2 separate regions of the Homo sapiens genome follow, and region 1 is linked to region 2. Evidence: promoter capture Hi-C in 16 types of primary human blood cells and fetal thymus (Javierre and others, 2016). All regions are on one chromosome and are shown on one strand. Each heading gives the region's core, a stretch centred on a gene start or on the middle of the fragment in contact. The rest is flanking DNA. Distances are from core to core; before and after follow the strand shown. Region 1 overlaps MCC (MCC regulator of Wnt signaling pathway). Region 2 holds the start of MCC (MCC regulator of Wnt signaling pathway).

Region 1 (4,541 bases), core at 1,779-4,278, 150 kb before region 2:
AATTCAAGGTTCTGATTTCTGATTTTTTTTTTTTTTTTTTGAGATGCAGTCTCGCTCTGTCGCCCAGGCTGGAGTGCAGTGGCGTGATCTCAGCTCACTGCAACCTCCGCCTCCCGGGTTCAAGTAATTCTCTGGTCTCATCCTCCTGAGTAGCTGGGATTACAGGCACGCACCACCACACCCGGCTAATTTTTGTATTTTTAGTAGAGATGTGGTTTTACCATGTTGGCCAGGCTGGTCTTGAACTCCTGACCTTAGGTGATCTGCCTGTCTCGGCCTCCCAAAGTGCTGGCATTACAGGCGTGAGCCACCGTGCCCAGCCAATGTTCTGAATTTTAAAAAAATCAACCCTATATTCTAGGCCATTCCTTAGCCCTTTTCTCAAAATTCCAATATTTTATTTGTCCTATCCCAATTCCCTGAAAATCTAAAGGGTGACAAGCATGCTCTATGCTGAAGAATTTTTTGTTCTTTGACTCTGAACAATGCCCAGAAGAGGGTGCTCATAGAACAATCAGCCTTGCTTTAACCGCAAAGCTAGCACACATCCTCTAGATCAAAGTTTGGTAACCCCAAATTTGGCAAGTACCATAATGATTGTAGTGTGTTAAGACTGCAGAAGGAGAAATGAAAAGTTCCCTATATTAAAAGCAATTCAAGAATACATTTTAAAAAGTTGGTGAAGACCTTTTAAATGAGGGAAGACAGAGACAAATGATTACTTTTACTTCTCATCAACTTTCTGTTGTCCACATGGCTTCTCTTCTAGTATAATTAATTTTAATGTACATCAATTAATACTTTTATTAATAAAAAATAAAACCTATAATTAATACTTTAAAAACCAAGTAGTATAGCTCACAGAATTTATCTAGACATTGCTATTTCATTCAGGAATTTATCTCTGCTGTATCTAGAAAATGAAACTTCTGTTACGTTTTATGTTTTAGAATACTTACATATGTTACTACTCAGAATCCATAACATTATAATTTATACTAGCATTATTTCCTGGTAATACAAATCTTTGTAGAAAAAATCTATCAGAAAACAGGCAGTACATCTTTCCCACTGCATACCCTCTTTACCAGACTCTTAAAATATCTCATATTGCTTTACCCATAGTTTTATGAATAGGGCTTAGATTACACTGAGTTTTGCTGCTGCTTTGTGGTGACTTGGTACTAAATTCAGCTAAGCTGGAACCACATTCCCCAGAGTTCTCTTTCTTGTATGGTTCTGTATGGCCATGAGAGACATTCTGTGTGAAATCCAGAAGGAAGAAGTAAAGAAGTCATACTTTTTATGCTCTGAAACTTGGTACAGAGTTACTGTCGTAGTCTGTTTTGTGCTGCTATCACAGAATATCTGAAACCGGGTAATTTATAATGAATAGAAATTTATTGGCTTATAGTTCTGGAGGCTGGGAAGCCCAATATTAAGGTGCTGGCATCTGTCAGGTGACTTCTTACTGTGTTATCACATGGTGAAAGAGTGCAAGGGCAAGGAGAAGGTGAGAGAAAAAGAAAGAGAGAGAGACAGGGAGTGGGAGAGAGAGAGAGGAACCTGTCCTTTTAAAATGGCACCAATCCCACCCATGAGGGTGGAGCCATCATGGCCTAATCACCTCTTAATTGTCCCACCTCTTAATACTGTTATAATGGCAAAAAAATTTCCATATGAATTTTGGAGGGGAAAACAAACCATAGCAGGCACTATGCACCTTGTCCACTTGCACACATTATTGCTAATCTGCTGCTTAACTACTTGGTGTACCAGGCTTGCAGTAATTCTAATTCACTAAATCTCCTCCTTCAGCTTCTCTGAGTCCTGGGCCAAGTGTGTGTGCAGGAGACACACTGCAGGAGATAGTGCCAGTTTCTCCTGCAGGTCACCCGCAGCATCAAGGTTGGACATGGTAAGACACAGAAGAGGGTTCCAGTTTGTCCTCAATGGTCCCATTGGTCCTCATGAGTTCTGGTTTGTCCCTACTCTCCTATACATCTAGCTTTCCCTCTTAACAGCTGATCTGACAAACCTATAGTAACTTCAGGCTCAGCACTAGACACAGAACCAATAGTCTTCATAGATTGCATCACCAGCTCTCACATTTGTGTAAGGTCTAGCCCTTAGGATAATAAATCTCTTATTCTGTATAATGTGTGGCCATTTTGCTACTTCGATAAAACCATGGCTGCTGTAAGTATCTGTGTACAACACTGTCTTGTTGCCTTTGCATTGTGAACGGTATGTTAAGCCTCATGGTATCCACTGTCTTAGGTAGAAGGAGAAGACTGGTGATTGGTGGTAGAAGAAAAGGAAGAGATGCTTAGAAAGGTAAAAAGCTTATGTAGGAATCTCTCAGGAAATCCTCAATGCTAAAAATGTCTGTGCTAGTTATCATTTGTTGCTTCTCATCTCCAAATCCAGCTTTCTTTGTCCTGTTTTGTGGTCTTGGAGCTGGACCATGTAAACATTTCTCCTTTGTCAATAGAGGGTGCTGGAGGGACACTGTAGGAAGAAGGGAACTCAGCTTGACTCTCGTGGCTTGACTGCTGTGCTCTCCCCTGCTAGCTCTTGTGGTGGGTAGGCGCCAGCAGCATAGGACATCTAGTGACTCACCCTATTAAGTTTTAGTGGCAGTATTTGGGGGACTTTTCAGTGGGTTTGCCACCACTCCAGCAGGCAGCTTCCCAGTGAATCCCTCTGGCACCTCGGAGGACACCTCAGTGATACCTGATGAGTCTTGCAGATGCCCCAATGGGTGGTATACCAGGAGGCTGGACGAAGGTTCAGAAGTTTGGTTTCCTGCTTGCCAGCCCTGGCCTGCAACATCTCAGGGAAATTCTCTGCAATTCAGTGGGCTGCAGACTTTCTTTGAAAGGGGTCTGAATCAGCCCTGGGTGAGGGGAGGGCCCTCTTCCAAATTTGTTCCTTCTTTGGTACTCTTTCCTTGGGAACAGCCTTAGGGGTAGTGGCTGTTCTTCGTATGTGCTATTCCTGTGTTCAGTACGGTTTTCTTTACCCTTAGTAGGTAATCCTCTGCTACTAGTTAATAATCATTTATATTAAACTTTCCCTGTGTGAATTACTGTGTGCTTTCTGTCTCCTAACTAGACACTGATAAAATGCCTTTTGCTCTTAGTAGCTATTTAAAAGAAAAATAATAAAACTTAATTTTATTAGTTCAAGATTTTTCCTTAGAAGGGACATAAATTACTTTTAATGTGATTATATAAATAAAGGGATTGCCCAAATGTGCAGTTTCAAGAGACTATTTGCTTTCTTTGGCCACCTGGGAAGGGTATTTCTCAAATCGGGCTCTACAGACCCTTCTGAGTAGACCCTGAGTCACTATGGCTATGAAACAAACTACCGCAAACACAATGGTTAAAACAACCATCATGTATCACTCTCACGTATCTGACAGAAGGACTCTAGAGTTGCATGACAAATGGTGAAGACACAGGACAGGATGAAGAACTGGGGCCCAAAATGTACTCTACCACAGGGTCCAAGGGCATTAAAAATGGGTCTGTGAATTCAAATGGTATTTTTAAAGTTTTACTTTTCCATTTGGTGAGGAAATAAATAGTGTAATCATAGTCATAGGACTTCAGTGCCTGCATTTGCATTCATGGTTCAGTTCTTGCCAAGGGATCGCCTTAAGTGAGTGTGCAGAGGAAATGTTAGGCAGTGTTCCCTCATTTCTAAAGCTTAACCAGTAAAGTAAAAAGAGGGTATGTATATGACTGTGGGGTATGTGAGAGCTCTCTGTGCCTTGACTCCCCTGAAGAGCCAACTTAGAGAACCTGGCTGTGGGAACCCCAAGGGCTGAGCTGGCCTCCAATCAGGAGAGACAGGAGAACAGAAATCAGTCCAGGAGGTTACTGGAGAAGCTGGGAACCACAGAGTCATACAGAGATAGGAAACAGCCAACTCCCACAGTTTTCAATAGCAGATTTGCTGCAGAAAACTGGTCGGCCATGAACCTGGAACCCTCCAGAGAAGGTACCATCAAATTTTGATCTCTGTTTAACACTGATTTCTGCTATAACCCATCCTGTTATGGCAATGTCTGTCTTGAGAAAAGGCTGAGCTGATATAGTACAGAGGAGGGTTCAACTTGCTGCAAATTATTTGAAGCAGGCATAGCCTAAGTCCAGGCCTATGCCAGAGAAAGATGACATATTCACTGATAATCGCCTAATCTCCTGAGCACATAGGAGGGCAAGATTAGGATAGTTAGAGTTCTACTCAAACTGTGCAAGAATGTCCTTGAAGTGTGGCCAAGTGACAAACAGTGCAATAACTATGAATGTTTTTACAGATTTTATGAGACATTATCATACCCTAGCAGTGACTGTGCATGTTTATATGTTTTTAATAAATTTTTTATTTTATAATAGTTTTAGGCTAAGGCGGGTGGATCACTTGAGGTCAGGAGTTCGAGACCAGCCTGGCCAACATGGTGAAAACCCTGTCTCTACTAAAAAAAAAAAATACAAAAATTAGCCAGGTGTGGCAGGTACCTGTAATCC
Region 2 (4,806 bases), core at 1,581-4,080:
TAACCATGAGGATGAATGCTTTATGTGAAAAATGGTGTTGGAGAAAGGTAGAAGGTAGCTGGGGACTGACACCACCGCAGAGCTGCTGCCCCAACCTAGATAGCCTACCTCCAGATTTCTACTAGGTGACAAAGCCAACCCTTACTTGACTATGGTTAGGTTACTGTGATGACATATAGTCATCTGAAATTCTAACAGATACAGCTGTCTACCAGGAACATAAATTTAACGTCTTTAGATGAATCCAAAGTTTTTAAGGTTTTAATGTTAAAAAGTCCAACTCTCATGTCTGATAGAACAGGAATGCACAACCCTCCAAACCACATCACCCACTACAGAGTGGTAAGTACAGGTCATTAAATGAAAGCAGCACAGAAAAGTGGCTTCAGAGAGGGAATCATTTAATGCCCCTTACCTTCATTAGCCCCATTCCCCAAGTCTTACCACATAAACGTAAATTCCAGGTAAAACTGTGCTTACCAGGTAAACACACTTCCAGACAAGTTCCTTGTTGCCCTAGATTGCCATCCCTAAACTTCTCCTACATGGCAATTCTGCCACAGCATAATTTTCAGGGCAGCTCCACCCACAGTTAAAGTTATGATTTAGGGTTCATTACTACACATACCTTGAAACTTTTAAGCAGACACATTAAAGTAATGCAGCTCAAGGAATGTTAACAACTTTTTCCACTTTTGCCCCAGCCAGTTTCTACTCTAATCCAAAACGGCTTCTTTATCACCACCCACTTTACTCAAATTACGCTTACAGAATTCATTATCCTCCCGGGTAGAATCACCGAAAATAATGTGAGCATTTATATAGAAAGTGTAGTTCAGATAAAGCAATATATTAATAGGCCAAATTAGAAAAGGATAGCACGCTGCTAGTTTTCTGTATGCACTCTTGCCCGTGTGAAATTAAACTTTTTTGCATCCATGCGGGGAGCGGTGGCTCAGGCCTGTAATCTCAGCGCTTCCTAAGGCCGAGGCGGGCGGATCACTTAGGGTCAGGAATTCGAGACCAGCCTGGCCAAATTGTGAAGCCCCTTCTCTACTAAAAATACGAAAATTAGCCGGGAGTGGTAGTGGGCACCTGTAATCCCAGCTACTCGGGAAGCTGAGGCAGGAGAATCTCTTGAACCAGGAGGCGGAGGTTGCAGTGAGCCAAGACCACGCCACTGTACTCCAGCCTGGGTGATAGAGCGAGATTCTGTCTAAAAAAAAAAAAAATTGTATCCAAAGTTGGAGTTTGCCTTTATTATTGCAAATGAGATAATAACCTTTCAAGTAGGAAAACAACAAAAAGGAAAACTATATAATGAAATTTCTTTTACTCCCAGAACCAAAATAACGAGACTTCCAGATAGAAATTTGCATGGAGTCAATCAGAATTACATATTATTTTCATTTCCGAACAGAATTACTCCATCAAGTTTTCTGATATCTTCCTAATGTTTCTCAGTAAAACTTTAGCAAAGTAATAAAAATTCACCTAAGAATGATCAAAATTGCGTTGAGTCCCAAATAAATAATTTTTTTTATTTTAAGGGAAAAATTCCGCACTTTGCTTTCTTTTTTTTTTTTTTAGGTAGGCAGGGACAATCAGGAAGCAGCCCCGGATTTTCAGAAACGATCTTTAGCATCACCAAGACATAGACTAAAGAAACATGTAATGCACAACTTAGGCTGCTCCTTCATCCAAGGCAATTCAAATTTCCACGGATACCAAGTCTTCAATGGCCGGTGTCAACCATTCAATAGAAGCATACCAGAAAATGTTGCGATTGCCTTCTTCACCACAAGAGTCTAAGTGACACAAATTTGGGCAGAAGTAATTATTTGGCCAAGCCGGGAGGCAGGAAGCTTAAATACCGCCTCTGTAGGAAGTGCGGGGGATCCGAAGCAAACACCCCAAAGTTTGTTTGTGAGTGGAGGCGCGGAGGCGCCCGGAGCCACGCCGAAGCTCACCTGGTCAGCGCACAGAGCCGGGTAGGAGTCGGGTCTAGCCCTAGTTTGCTCCTGAGCGCTTCGTTCCTCTCAGGCTACTGCGTTTAAATCAATACTGGGTGGCAAACGATACCCATTCTTTGGGCTCTGAAGTTTGGAATTCATGGGTTCTGCGGCACAAGAAAGTTTCTTCACAGGTTATTTCCCTGTCCGAGGCTGTCGCTTAGCTCATCTCCTCCCGGTGCGGCCCTGGGGTGTCCACCAAGCCGCCGGGCAGATCGCTGCCCCGTGCTGCGGCATCTTGATGCCCAGGACCCCGAGGCTGTGGGGCAGCCCCTCCTACCTGGGACAAGCGGCCAGAACTCCTTTTCCCACAGGGAAGAACACTCCAAGCCCCCGGAAGAGTGCGCATCCTAAGGAGATGTCTCCCAACGCCTAGACAAAGACAGCGCTGGGAAAAGTTGGACCAACTGGCACCCCCGCAAGGCGAACAGAGCAGTCCCCTCGGCCTTCGTGGCCGAGCCGGCTACGCGCTCTCGGAGTCGCGGCCAACTTTTCCCGCGAGCTTCTGAGCAACTTGCCGCAAGTTGGGGCGAGGGGGCAGAGCAGGGGTCAAGGGCGCGCGGAGGGACTGATCTCGCTCCTGTCGGTTTCCTCGTACCTCCCCGCGTACCTGCTGATGTATCCGTCCCCGTCGCCGTCGCACGTCTGGAAGAGGCGCCGCATCCTCTCCTCCTCGCCGGTGCTGGACGTGTCGCTGCTGCTGCTGCTGCTGCCGCTGCCGCCGCCGCCGCCGCCGCTGCTGGAGCTCCCCGCAGCCGCTGCCGCCGCGGCCGCCATCATGCGCCCGCTCCCTACTTGGGAGGAGGAGTACGCGCGACCGCAGCTGGAATCCGCGCGGCGCGCAAGCTGCCTGCAGCCCCGAACTTGCCTGACAACGGAGCATGCCCAGTGGCCGCCGGGGCGCTCCGGGCGAGGGATTCCACCTCTCCGGGTTTTGCCCGGACTGGGAAGATGGGCGCTCTGGAATCGCCCGAGGAGGCACCTCAGGGAAGAGGGAGGAGGGGAAGGTGGCTGGAAGAGTCAGGGAGCTAAGGGTGGCAACGGGAACACAAGAGGAGGCAGAATACACTGGAAGCCCCCGGGAAGGGTGTCAGCATTGTGCATCCGGCAACGACGCGGGCCCGGGACACTTGGGGACGCTTCAGGCAGAGGGCAGGTGTACTCCCGGCAGACCTTCTCCGACCGCCCGGAGTCATGGCTTCCTTTTCCAGAGAAGCTATATAAACACTCTCCTTCTGCAAACTCAAAACGGTGCTTGTAATCCCACTCTCCAGGATTGTTCCGGGTTCTGTACCCATAGCCACCAATGAGAACCGGAATGACTGGCCTTTTTATGAAATTTTGACACCTGTCAAGAAACCTGGCCCTCGCAGCCCTCATCTTGGCTCCCACTCTGTACTGGGAAGAGTCTGCACGCTGTGTGGCATTGTGTACGTTGGGTCAATTTCTGGAAACGGCTCACTCTACTGGCCAGGCATCACTAGAATTTCCCCCAACAGCTTTAATAATGCCAAGAGCGAACATAATAGATGGTCTCATTTGATCCACACTACAGACCTGGAAGATGCCTCTTTTATTATCAATCCTACGACTTAGGAAGTATTAATAGATAAGTACCTCATAGAGTTATCTTACATATAAAAGGAGAGCAGACATAATGCAGTTAGGACAATGTCTGACACCTAGTAAGTGCTCAACAACTGTTAGCTCTCATTGTTCCCAATTTACAGGTAAGAAAACTGAGGTACCAAGACCTGCTCAAGGTTCCAGGTTTAGTAAGTGTTAGGGCAGAGGCAAGCCCGGGCAGCCTAACTCCAGAGCAGGAGCCTTTAAACACTGCACTATTCCCCCATAGCCAAAGGGAAACCACAGTGAAGCAATTTGTGGTTTCGTGAATGACTCATTATTCTGTCCTGGATTTTCTGCCAGAGAGGCGTGTGAAGTTCTCTGGTGGTTTTAAAATATGTCCACAGATTCTTTGGTGCACCCCTCATCAAGAGGTGGAGTCTGTTGCTTCCCCTAAACCTGGATTGGACTTGTGACTGCCTTGACTTCTGAGACTAGGTTAGAAAAGGCAATGCAGATTGCACTTGGCTCTCTCCCTTGGGACACTTACCTTTGAAGCCTTGAGCTGCCTGAAAAGAAGTTTGGCTACCCTGAAGCTGGAGAAACCATGCAGAAAGACCATGTAAAGAAAAAAGGAGATGACCAAAGAGCTACAGCTGTTCTAGCCCTGGATCTTAGAATCTTCCCAGACTAGGTGCCAGACATGAGTGAGAGATGATGCTAGCTCTAGATGCTGCAACTGCATTGGAGACCCTGAGCAAAACTGGCTAACCAACCCCCAGAGCTGTGAAGATAATAATTAAAAATTGTTGTTTTAAGCCATTAAGTTTTGAGGTGATTTGTTATGCAGCAATATATAACTGGAACAAGTCCATATGTCTTGGGAATGTCTGCTAGGTCAGAAGGAAGGAATCTCTGCTCTCTTTCTCCTCCTCTCCACCCCATCTACCTATTCCTACTTTACTTCTTTATTATTCTCTAAGTTCCCAGTATTTCAGGGCACTAAAATCATAGATTCATGAGTTAATGAGTTAATGGGTTATCATGGGAGTGGGACTAGTGACTTTATAAGAAGAGAAGGAGAGACCTGAGTTAGCAGGCTCAGCCCCCTTGCCATGTGATGCCCTGCACTGTTTTGGGACTCTGCACAGAGTCCCCACCAGCAGGGTGGCCCATTGACCTTGGACTTTTCATTCTCCAGAACTGTAAGAAATAAATTCATTTCTTT

Evidence for each region. Contacts are between HindIII fragments. The CHiCAGO score rates a contact against its expected background, and 5 or more counts as called.
Region 1: a fragment that was not itself captured here is called in contact with the fragment with the promoter of MCC in region 2 in 6 of 17 cell types (endothelial precursors, naive CD4 T cells, total CD4 T cells and 3 more); the score reaches 6.1 in endothelial precursors.

What each region holds. Positions count from the first base shown.
Region 1 is chr5:113,334,569-113,339,109 of GRCh38, forward strand. All of the region lies in intron 3 of MCC (MCC regulator of Wnt signaling pathway), which reads right to left. It overlaps LOC124901045 (a long non-coding RNA gene), which reads left to right. Exons shown (of 3, transcript XR_007058904.1): 3 at 1,819-4,541. Among named protein-coding and RNA genes, the nearest start is that of TSSK1B, 98 kb to the right of the region's middle. The HindIII fragment of the contact is 1,371 bases long and covers 2,344-3,714 here.
Region 2 is chr5:113,485,623-113,490,428 of GRCh38, forward strand. It overlaps MCC (MCC regulator of Wnt signaling pathway), which reads right to left and starts at 2,831. Exons shown (of 19, transcript NM_001085377.2): 1 at 2,623-2,831. The coding sequence starts at 2,792. RefSeq lists an enhancer at 2,730-3,024. The HindIII fragment of the contact is 3,844 bases long and covers 1,864-4,806 here.